Linked DNA regions of Homo sapiens: all the other regions are linked to region 4. The links are contacts of gene promoters, found by promoter capture Hi-C in blood cells and fetal thymus (Javierre and others, 2016). All regions are on one chromosome and are shown on one strand. The core of a region is centred on a gene start or on the middle of the fragment in contact, and the rest is flanking DNA. Distances in the headings are between cores, read along the strand shown. Region 1 has its middle 200 kb from the start of RADX. Region 2 has its middle 110 kb from the start of RADX. Region 3 has its middle 150 kb from the start of RADX. Region 4 holds the start of TBC1D8B (TBC1 domain family member 8B).

Region 1 (2,766 bases), core at 180-2,679, 390 kb after region 4:
TTACAAGAGCAAAAAAGAGAGATCTTATGATCATGCACTGGGTCTCAAATATCTCATCCTGGAAATGGTATAGGTCACTTATGTTTGCATTTCATTGTCTATAACTAGTCACATGATCCCAATTAATTGAAAGGGGACTGTGGAATATGAGGTGCATCTGGAATACATTATGAGCACTACTCACAGTGAGAGATAATGGAGTAAAGGGATGTTTTGGAGCAGTGTTGAGAAGTAGAGACTAGAGTTACTGACAGGATTAAGTGCCTTGTTATGAATTATTTCTATTACCACAAATGTACACTATATTGATACAATAAGTCTATATAAGAGGAAAGCCTTTGGTCAAAATTTAACATGAGCAGAGAGAACTTGGCTAAGAATGCAAGGGTATAATAATTAGGAACTGAGGGGCCTGACATGGATCCTATAACAATTGAGGGCCGGTGCAAGACTAATGCAGGTCTCTGACACTCAGAAGAGAGTCACGTTAGAAAGGAGATCTTCTCACCAAAGGCAACACATATGGCCACACAGACTGCACCCTACAAAACTGCAGGGGCTACTATTCACCTTTTGTATAGGACTCTTGTTTCTCATCCTCTGGGTGCAGGAGCAGGGGCAGGGGTGCCCAGAGGGCAGCCATCAACAGCCCCACTGAAGGGCAGAGTAGCTGGTGGCAGCTAAGACCCAAATGTAGAAGCACAAAGCCATCTATTTGTGCACTAAAATCTCCTTGCTCACAATGGTCTCTGTTCCTTGTGCTTATCCCTGAGCTTCTGAAGAAGGTTCCTTTTGAAAATATCAGCCTGGCTTACCCAGATTCAGGAAAACAATTAGATAAATAAAAAGGCTCATTTCACGATTAGATCAGGATTGCTGAGGACCCCTGGTGGCTATAAGTGATAGTGACAGCAACTCTTCCAGATGGAGATTATGAGAAACCTGACCAGGATGAGGGAAGTGAAATCACAGAGCTCAGAAGCTTTGACAGATAGGGATTCCCTACTGTTAGGGCTGCTCTGTTAACAAACAGGCATTATTATCACCTCCATATTTCAGATAAGAAAACAGATTCAGAAGCTATCTCTGATCTTCATATTTGTAGTCAAATGCCCTTTTTAGTATATTATGCTACAGCAAGTCCCTGGGATAAATCTTAGAGTAATGGAACATTTTCCCTGATCCTGCTCTTCCGTAGTAACGGAGGAACATAATTCTAAAAGATGCTACAGATACTAAAATGTAGGCTTTCACAGGCTTTGGGAGAGAGCTGTGGCCTACACAAATTGTGAATGCCTGGCAAAAGTAAAGAGAAACGCTGCAAAATCAGAATTAAAACCCAGCTATCCCTCCCTTTGTGACACTTGATCAAAATTGTTGGTGACATATTGCATACCACAGATGAAAGCAGGTTAATGCCTTCACTGTTGAACTTCTTTCTGGTTGGGTTGGCACTAGGCAACAGAGAAGGCTTTCCTGCCCTCCCAATATCTTTTCTTGAAGAAACAGTTTTCTGTGATGGTGATGGGGGTCTTTATGGCTATATAAGATATTTGTCTCTCAAATAGAATAAATGCTGGACATATTTTGAGCAAAAACAGTTTAAATTCTTCTTAGAAGGATTCACAGACAGCTGCTTTTGGCTTAAATTGTCAGAAATTTTTAGACATTCAGGGGACCACAGAATCTCTGAAATAACATCCCATATGGAGCACAGTTTTCTTTATCATATCCCTAACAAGTGACCATTCAATCTCTGTATGAACAGCTCTATTAACAAGTAAAAATCTGACTCCTTCCAAAGACAGGCCATTGCATTTTTAGATCTATTACAAACATGAACCCCCCTGCAGGAATTCTATGCCAGCCAAGCTTAGATAGCCCAATAAGTGAGTACATATGGTCCACCTTGAAGGTTGTAATAAGACTCCCTGGAAACTATGAAATTGTTCATTTTACATACTTTTCCTTAGAAGCAGAGTGAAAGTTGCACAGTAAGCAGGTAAGCAGAAGGAAGAATTCCTATAAAGATTCACTTTTGGCCAGGCCCGGTGGCTCACACCTGTAATCCCAGCGCGGTGGGAGGTCGAGGCGGGAGGATTCCTTGGGCTCAGGAGTTCAAGACCAGCCTGGGCAACGTGGTGAAACTCCGTCTCTACAATTTTTTTTTTAATAGCTGGGTATAGTAGCATGCACCTGTAGTCTCAGTTACTCCAGAGGCTGAGGTGGGAGGATTGCTTTGAGCCTGGGAAGCTGAGGTTGCAGTGATCCGAGATCCCACCACTGCACTCTAGTCAGGGCAACAGAATGAGACCCTGTCTCAAAAACAAACAAATAAATTCACTTTTATTCTCCTTTCTGTTAGAAAGTCACGTGAAAGCACATTTCTCTAGCCTTAAAGTTCAGCTGCCACTAGCATTTTATTCCTGTGGAAAATATTTCTTTCAGGTCCCATGGGATAAGGGACATATAAAACCATAGCCTTCCATGTATGACAAAGACAATTGGAAATGGCTTCCAGGTATCAGGTTGCTCCAATAAATTCATTTGTTAACAAATGTATTTTTATTTATTAGGAATGAAATGGGTAACATCTTTATAAAATAGTCTTTCATGGAAAGTTTGAGCAAAAGGCATTCTAAAGGCTAGAGTCTAAAGGCCCATCCCCTTGTCTCAATTTATTTTGTTCCTGCCCAGGGTTAAGACTCCATTACCTCTAATTTTGATCATTATAATAGCCTTCTTCCTCTCTGATATTCTGCATTT
Region 2 (3,083 bases), core at 101-2,600, 300 kb after region 4:
CATTGCTGAATAATATTCCATCATATGAATTGACCACATTTCATTTAGCCATTCATCAGTTGGTGAACCTTTGAGAGGTTTCCAATATTGGACTATTATAAATAATGCTGCTATTTTCATTCCTGTACAGGTTTTTATGTGGACATATGTTCTTATTTCTCTGAGATATGTAACTAAAAGTTGAATTTCTGAGTCATAGGATAACTCAATGTTTAACTATTTGAGAAACTGCCAAAGAATTTCCAATATTTCTGCATAATTTTACAGTCTTATCTGTGATGTATGAAACTTTCATTTTCTTCACATCCTCACCAACACTTGTTATTGGCTATTTTTTTATTATACCCAATCTAGTGGTTGTAAATTACTATCTCATTGCGGTTTGGGTTGTCATATACCTAATGACTAATGATGTTAGAAGTTATATCCTGTGCTTATCAGCCATTCATATATCTTCTTTGGATAAACGCCAATTCAAATATTTAGCCCATTTCAAAAATTAGCTTGTTTGTCTTCTTAGTATTTACGTTTTCTCTTGTCATTGTTATAACAGTTATAATTGAATTTGTGAAATTCAGTGGGAAAACAAGAACAAACTAAACATAAAGCAAGCAGAAAGGAAATAAAGATTCGAATGGGCATAAACAAATAGAGAATAGAAGAAAAAGAGATAATCAATGAATCAAAATTTAGTTCTTTGAAAAGATCAACAAAATTGACAAAGCTTTAGGTATACTGACCAAGAAAAAGAGATATTAAATTCAAACCACTAAAATCATGAATAAGAAAGGGGGCACTACTAATAAAAAAAAACCCTACAGAAATAAAAATAATTACAAAGAAATTCTATAAACAATTTATGTCAATAAATTGGTTATCCTAGAGCAAATGAGAAATTTCCTAGAAAGACACAAAATACTAAAAACTACTCAATAATAAATAGAAAATCTGAGAATACTTGTAATAATTAAAGTGACTGAATTAGTAATTTTTAAATCCCTTTAAAAATAACCCAGCCCTTGATGGCTTCCTGTGAACTCTGTCCAATATTTAAAAAACAAAATAATACAAATTCTTCACAAAATCTCTCAAAAAATACAAGAGGAAGGAATATTTCCCAAGTCATTCTGTGAGGCCAGGATTATCCTAATACCAAAACCAGACAAAGATATCACACATAAGGAAAAGTACAGATTAATGTCTCTTAAGAAGACAGATGAAAGAAATGCTTAACAAAATGCTAGCAAACCTAACCCAACACATGAAAAGGATTTCATATCATGACTAAATTAGATTTATCCCAGGAATGCAAGGTTTGTTTAACACATGAATATCAATTACAGTCACACATCACTTAACAGCAGGGATATGTTCTGAGAAACACATCATTAGGCGATTTTGTTGTGCCAACATCCTACACTGTACTTACACAAACCTAAATGGTATAGCCTACTACACACCTAGGCTATATGGTATAGCCTATTGTTCCTAGGCTACAAACCAGTATAGCATGTTACTGTACTGAATGCTGTAGGCAATTAAAACACAATGGTAAGTATTTGTGTATTTAAACATGTCTAAACCTAGAAAAGATACAGTAAAAATATTATCTTAAAGATAAAAAATGGTACACCTATATAAGGAACTTGCCATGAATGGAGCTTGCAGGACTAGAAGTTGCTCTGGGTGAGTCAGTAAGTGAGTGGTGAATGAATGTGAAGTCCTAGGTCATTACTGTACATTATTGTAAACTTTATAAACACTGTATACTTAGGCTACACTAAGTATATTTAAAAATATTTGTCTTTCTTCAATGATAATTTAACCTTAGCTTATCATAACATTTTTTACTTTATGAGCTTTCAATTTTTAAAAATTTTGACTCTTTTGTAATGACACTTAGCTTAAAACACAGACATATTTTACAGTTGTACAAAAATATTTTCTTTCTTTATAGCCTTATTCTATAAGCTTTTTTTCTATGTTTAAGATTTTTTAAAAAGTTTTTAAACTTTTCTTTTAGAAACTAAGACGTAAACACACACATTAGCCTAGGCCTACACAGGGTCAGACTCATCAATATGATCGTCTTTTACCTGTACATCTTGTACCACTGGAAAGTCTTCAGGAGCAATACACATGGATCTGTCATGTCTTATGATAATGATACTTTCTTCTGGAATACCTCCTGAAGGACCTGTCTGAGGCTGTTTTACAGTTACCTATTTTTTTAAGTAGAAGGAGTATACTCTAAACAATAAAAAGTATAGTACAGTAAATATGTAAACCAATGACATATATTTATTGTAATTATCAAGTACTAAGTACTGTACCTAATTGTATGTGCTATACTTTTATACTGACTAGCAGTACAGTAGGTTTATTTGCACCAGCATCAACACAAACACATGAACAATGCATTTTTCTACAAAGTTATGATGGGTATGACATCCTAGTTTGACGGGTATGACATACTAGGTAATAGGAAATATTTTAGCTCCATTATAATCTTATGGAAACATTGTAATATCTGTAGTCTGACATTGAACAAAACATTGTTACGCAGCACATGACTGTAATGTAATACACCATGTAAATAGAATAAAATACAAAAAATGCACATGAACTCAATAGACCAAGAAAAAGCATTTGAAAACTCCAACAGCCTTTTTTGATAAAAGCCCTCAAGAAACTAGGAATAAAAGAAAATGTTCTCAACCCTTACATTTGTAGTCACTGAATTGTTAATAGGAGTGCCAGGACAATTCAATGGGAGAAAAGGGTGGTCTTTTCAACAAGTAGTGTTGGCACAACTGGGTATCTGCATGTAAAACAATAGATTTAGAACTGTACCTGACAGCATATACGAATTAACTAAAACTGAATCACAGACATGAACATAACAGCTAAAACCATAACATCCTTAGAATAAAACCTATGAGTAAATCTTCACGACTGGGAGTGAGGCAATGCCTTCTTAGATATGACCCCAGAAGCATAATCAAAGAAAATGGATAAATTGGACTTCATCAAAATTAAAAACTTTTGTTGGCTAAATTACACCACCAAGAAAGTGAAAAGAT
Region 3 (2,994 bases), core at 149-2,648, 340 kb after region 4:
AGTATCTTTTGGCTTGCAAATTCATCACTTTAACCTCTTCTTCTGTCTTCACAGACACAGTGTTTTCCCCTGTGTCTCTGTCTTTGTGTATCTTCTTTATAAGGACATCAGTAATGGATTAATGGCCCACCTAATCCAGTATGACCTCATCTTAAATTGATTACATCTGCAAATAAGATATTTTCAAATAAGGTCACATTCACAGGTTCTTGGGATTAGGACTTCAACATATCTTTTTGAAGGACCCAATTCAACTAAAAACAAGAAGCAAAGATTTGGTGGTGGCAGTGAAAAGTGGGTAAGGGAAAAAAAACAATTCCAGAAGGATATAAGTATTATACCATGCATATGAAGTCTAAAAACATGTAAAACAATCACTGTAATGACTGTGGTTACATACATTTATAGTAAAAGGCATACATGTCAGTGATGCATACACATGTAACATGCAGATAGGTATATATGAGAATGATAAGCACCTTAAGAGGGTGATTAGATCTTGTGGAGAAAGAGAGAGAATTTAATTGGGGAGAGGTACACAGTGGACTTCACCTCTATTTGTAATATGCTTCTAAAGTTGGGAGGTGGGTTCACAGATGTAGTATTCCTATACCTTTGTGTAAGTCTGAAATATTTCTTAACATAAAAGAACACTTAAAAGAGGAAATGGGCCTATTATCTGGAACCTGTTTAAGGAAAAAAATGAAGTTTGAGTTGGCCAGAGTAGAGGATCAGAGAAGGGGAGGGCCAGGGGTTTTAGGGTAGAAGGCCTTGTTTCTACATTTAGTTAAGACTGCCTGGATGCTTGCTAATTGGCATCAGTATCTTTATATACTATGGCAGCACATCTCATATCCTAGTGTATATTAACATTGCTTATATATGTGTATCTATTCTCCTCCACCCCTTAGAGGGTGGACATCTGAATGTTTGGGACTTTAAAGGATTTTATTTATCTATTTCTCCTGAAACACATAGCACTGTGTTTTCTTTTTAGTAGGTGTCTGAAGAGAGTCTGTTAAAACAAAGTTAACATAATGCATCCACAATCCATTTGTGTCACTACTGTTGACATTTAACAATGTATTATCACGTAGTAACACACAATGTTTCCTATGGCTATAACCAAAAAAGGCACAAGGCCTTTTGTCACCATTTTTTAAAATGAATGGGCAGTCCAAGTCAGAATTATCTATGCCGTGTCATTTGAAGGGCCTTAAATTGGCTCTGATTGGTCCATGGCATGTTGGTGAACTGTCTTTCTATCTCTCTATCTATCTACAAAAGACATGATGTTCGAAAAATTTTATTGGGTGCTATGGTTTGAATATGTCCCCTCCAAAACCAGGTGTTGCCAATGTAATGGTATTAAAAGGTGGAGCCTTTATAATGTGATTAGACCATGAGGGCTCCTCCTTCATGAATGGGAGTAGGTGCCCTTATAAGGGGCTTAATGGACAGAGTTGGTTTTCTCTTGCCCTTCTGTCTTCTGCCATGTGAAGACATAGCAAGAAAGCCCTCACTAGGTGCTGGCATCTTGGTCTTGAACTTTGCAGCCTCCAGAACTGTGAAAAAATACATTTCTGTTTTTTATAAATTACCCAGTTTCAGTTATTCTGTTATGACAGTGCAAAATGGACTAAGACATGGGAATTTACTCCATTAGACAAAAGGTATATACACAACTCTCTTAGATAAGCTCATTTGGCTTTGGACTTCTGCTAAGACTGCTTAGGGACAACACCCATAATCCTCTTAGATGGAATATTGTTTTTCTGAGGTACTTCTCCACTTCTTTTTAGGCCTTAATAATGGATTTTATAATTGCATCACTGGCTTCATCTTTATATCATATTTTCCTGGAAGGGTTCTGGATTTGATCTTTGCTTAGATGCCCTTTCTTAACTTTAGCATTATTTTCCATCTGGAGACACTGGGGGTTTTGAAAGCAGCAAATTATGTCTCCATTTTGTTTAAGCTCAAGTCTGTCCCTTAACATTCTCTTCTCACATTTTGCTATAAACAGCACCCCCTTTCCCCAAAAAAAATCCAGGCAGCACCGTCAACATTCTTTTTGGAAATACCCTTTGGTATATTCACAATCCAAATTGTGAACATGTTTTCTACTCTCCACATCATTGCACTAAATTACAAGGGATCCCTTTCCTCCAGTTTCCAATAAAGTTTTCTTTACTTTCCCTTAAGCTCTCACAGGCAACCTTCATAAAGATGGTTAGGTTTCTGATAATGGTGTGTTCCAAGAATCTTAGACTTTCATTAATACTCTCTCCAAACTCCTTCCAGCTTCAGCCCTCTGCTGGTTTTAAAGTCATTTCGCATGTTAGGTTTTGTTACTGCAGCACCCTACTCTTGGCACCAAACATCTGTTTTAATTATTATTATTATTATTTTTTGCCACATAACAAATAAGCCCTGAAATGGAGTGGCTTAAAACTACAAATAATTAATGTCTCACAGTTTCTGTAGGTCAGTTATTAAAGAGTGGTTTAGTTTTTCCTCCTGCTCCAGCCATGTAGAGCATGCCTGCTTCCCCTTCTCCTTCTGCCATGATTGTAAGTTTCCTCAGGCCTCCCTAGCCATGCTTCATGTATGACTTTGGAACCGTGAGCCAATTAAACCCCTTTTATCAACTTAAAAAATAGATAAATAAAATAATAAATAAAAAAGAGTGGTTTAGATGGATAATATCATCTTTGAGTATCTCATGAGGTTACAGTTCAGAAGTCAGTTGTGACTAAAGTCATTTGAAGGTTTGACTATATCCAGAAGGTTTGCTTCTAATCACATGGCTATGGACAGGATACCTTGATATATCATTGGCTATTGATAGTAAGTATCAGTTCTTTACCACATGGTTCTCTCTGTTGGGCTGCTTGAGTGTCCTCATGACATGTATTTTAGCCTGTTTGTGCTGCTAACAAAACACCTGAGACTGGGTAGTTTATAAACAATGGGAATTTATTTCTTATAGTT
Region 4 (2,975 bases), core at 412-2,911:
AGAACCTCAGAATTCTTTGCACCCCGGGAGTGGCTTGAAAACGAAATAACAGCATACGTTTATCACCATCTTGACGACATACATTGATTTGGTGCTATTATCTTTCGTTTTATCCTCTCAACTCTGTGAGGTAGGCACCATTTTCCAAGAGAGAAAAAGCAAGGTCATCTCCTCCATGAATTATAACTTGCCTAGTTTACTAGGTGGTTTTCTTTTTCCTTTAGACCTTCCCACCCTTCTTATCCAGATTATAAGCACTGCAAAGCCAAGAAACTGAATCTTGTGAACCTTGTGGCACACAGTAGGTGCTTAAGGTTGAGTAAATGAAAGAGTTTGAGGAATGTCATCCAACAAGTAAGAGAGTAGGATGGGACTAAAATGCAGGTTTTCGGGACTCTTCCCTCTTTCCATTACATCACGCTGCCTGGTCTACCACTTCAAGGTCACAATACCAAATTAGAGATTGATTAGAAAAAGAGCTCTTGCTTTCCCAACGTCCAAAACTTTAAATATCCCTACCCAAGATGAGTGGTCTCAAAATAACTTTCTCTGGAAACTTTAAACATTTGGCCAAAAAACACTTTTTAAGAATTGGGGTCAGGGTGGGTTAGACAGGAAGAGTTAAACTCTTACCGTCTGGCTTACAATCACAGCTTTGAATGAAGGGGCAGCACCAGTCACTCAAGAGATTAATTTATTACGACGTTGTTAATAGCCTTTGAGAGGGGATCCCAAAGATTGAAAACTTGGAGACAAAGTAAAAGATGCTAAATTGGGAGAGATCAGCAATTCTGAGCCTACCCCTCCACCTCTCCTGACTCCAGTTCTCCCTCCTCCCTAATATTTCTTTTGAAGTCTATTTCTCAGGATGTGATTGGGCGCCTCCCTTTCTCCTCACCATCCCCGCGTACCCACTCCATCCCATCCCCCATACGCTTAATCTCCCCAGGGTGCTGATGATCGGTATGGGTTCTGTGAAAAAAGTTAAGTTCACAACTGCGAACTGGCCCCTGTCACCAGCCTAAATGCGACCTGTCTAGGTCTAACACTCATCATCAGCCTCCCTCCCCCCATGGGAAGCGACAAGGTAGGTACCCGTTTCTTCCTTGGCCTCAGAAAGAACCGCGCTCCTCCCTTCACCTGTCCCAACCAAAGAGCAACTCGTCGTCCAGTGAGACATTCTCAGGACTTGGAGGTGGTGGCGGAAAGGTGGTGTCGGGAGAAGAACCCCAGTCCCTCCGCCCACGATTTAGGATCGGGAAACTGGTAGCGACGAGTAACTGTTGTCCTCACCACCTTTTAAGTAACAGCGAACACAGCCCAGAGGCAGGTAGGGTGGCCACAGCTTACCTGTGAGCCCCCCTCCGCCTTCCTCCCCGTAGCCCCGACGCCGCTGCAGCACGAAGTAGTCGTTGGACCTTTCCATCAGCCACAGCTTCAGCGCATTTTTCAGAAGCACTTCCTCAGGCTTCAGCCACATCGCGAACTTTGTGCCCCCCGGGAGCAGTGACCTAGATGCCCTCCTCACCTCACTCTCAACCCGTCTCTTCCCCTCTGCTTCTCCTCCCACCAAATCTTCCTCAGGCGACAGCAGCTCAGGTTCAGGTTTTCCACACTTCCCCCAACCCTCCCTTCTCTCCCACGTAGGCAGAGAGATTGCCAATTCCCTCCCACAGCGCTACCGCCAGACTGGGAAATAGTCCCGCTTCTTTACCTCTTGGGAGTTGTAGTTTCCTACGCGCTTTTCTGTGCTCAAGCGACTGGAACATGGGACTACCCTTCCCACAATACACTGGGGTGAGAATGGGTGGGGGTGCTTTCAAAGCGGGTCCCAGCCATCAGTTAAGTGTGTTTTGCCTATCTGAAGTTTAAAGCATTTTTTTGGTTCAAATAAGTGAGTCCCAGGTGTAAAGGTGTTGCTTCTTTTTATCATTTTACAGCCGAAGGCATTAAACTGTAGAAAACAAAGTTTCTGGAATTTTGGAATATCGGTTCATTCCAGGAAGTAGCAGTAGCAACAACTAACATTTAATGAGCTCTCACTATAGACTCAGGCGATCTCACGTAATCCTCACAGCAGTCTTGCGAAGTGGACATTCGTCCCCGCTTTGCACATTAATAAAGGAAAGCACTGTCGGGTGAGGCGACTTATCCAAGGTCACACAGTCAGTGATACGATTCCTTCTCTAAATCCAAAATTCATGCCTAGATTAAGCTCTTTTTGGTTATATAGGAAGAATATAAAATTTCCAGAAGCCACGCGTTTTCTTCACTCCGTGCACCGCTCCTTTCCTTCACTGTCGCCCCTATCTGTTTATTAAACTGCTGTAATGAACCACAGAAAATCTCTTGTCCAGCTTCCTATTTTGGAATCTAAACAATTTATGTGCATTTTTTTTTTTCTTAAACTCTTAAAAAAATCCCTTTGGAAGCAAACTTGATCTCTTTGTATCTTGGCAATGATGCGCAGCGGTTTGAACACTAAGGTGAATGAGGTCAATAATTTGCATGATATCGCTGTGAGGAAATATTTGACAGATGTTTTTATTTATTGCAATAACTAAGTCCACCGGAATTAAAGAGTGCATTAAAAGTGAAAAAAAGTTTAGAGGGAGGAAGGAGTTGGGAGGCCATGTATAAGCAAAGGGCTCTTGGCAAGCTGTTTTGAGAATAGAGCCTCAAAGTCATGTGGATTAAAAAAAAATGGGGTGGGGCACACGCAGATGCCAAGCCAAGGAACTCTGCCCTGGAGGAGCATCTCTGGGGTAACCTTCCAAGATGTGTGCCATCTCGAGTGAGGCAGGCGTGTGCTCCAAGCAGGGATTTTTCTTGTGAATGAGAAAAGGGGCAATCTGGGATTCTCTTCTACTAAATGGCAGTAAGTAGTCCCAAGGCAGCTATCTGGACAGTTTGGAAAGAGATAATCCTTTCAGAGTCCAGACTGCAATGTATCTTTGGGAAAAGCCATCGCAATT

What was found. Contacts are between HindIII fragments. The CHiCAGO score rates a contact against its expected background, and 5 or more counts as called.
Region 1: a fragment that was not itself captured here is called in contact with the fragment with the promoter of TBC1D8B in region 4 in 4 of 17 cell types (naive CD4 T cells, activated CD4 T cells, total CD8 T cells and 1 more); the score reaches 8.3 in naive CD4 T cells.
Region 2: a contact is called between a fragment that was not itself captured here and the fragment with the promoter of TBC1D8B in region 4, in 2 of 17 cell types (total CD8 T cells and naive CD4 T cells). The highest score is 5.9, in total CD8 T cells.
Region 3: a contact is called between a fragment that was not itself captured here and the fragment with the promoter of TBC1D8B in region 4, in 5 of 17 cell types (total CD8 T cells, naive CD4 T cells, activated CD4 T cells and 2 more). The highest score is 8.4, in total CD8 T cells.

What each region holds. Positions count from the first base shown.
Region 1 is chrX:106,413,610-106,416,375 of GRCh38, reverse strand. No RefSeq gene overlaps it. Among named protein-coding and RNA genes, the nearest start is that of RADX, 200 kb to the left of the region's middle. The HindIII fragment of the contact is 890 bases long and covers 985-1,874 here.
Region 2 is chrX:106,498,268-106,501,350 of GRCh38, reverse strand. No RefSeq gene overlaps it. Among named protein-coding and RNA genes, the nearest start is that of RADX, 110 kb to the left of the region's middle. The HindIII fragment of the contact is 1,247 bases long and covers 727-1,973 here.
Region 3 is chrX:106,461,449-106,464,442 of GRCh38, reverse strand. No RefSeq gene overlaps it. Among named protein-coding and RNA genes, the nearest start is that of RADX, 150 kb to the left of the region's middle. The HindIII fragment of the contact is 4,432 bases long and covers 1-2,994 here.
Region 4 is chrX:106,801,359-106,804,333 of GRCh38, reverse strand. TBC1D8B (TBC1 domain family member 8B) reads right to left here and starts at 1,661. Exons shown (of 21, transcript NM_017752.3): 1 at 1,351-1,661. The coding sequence starts at 1,480. The HindIII fragment of the contact is 5,023 bases long and covers 1-2,975 here.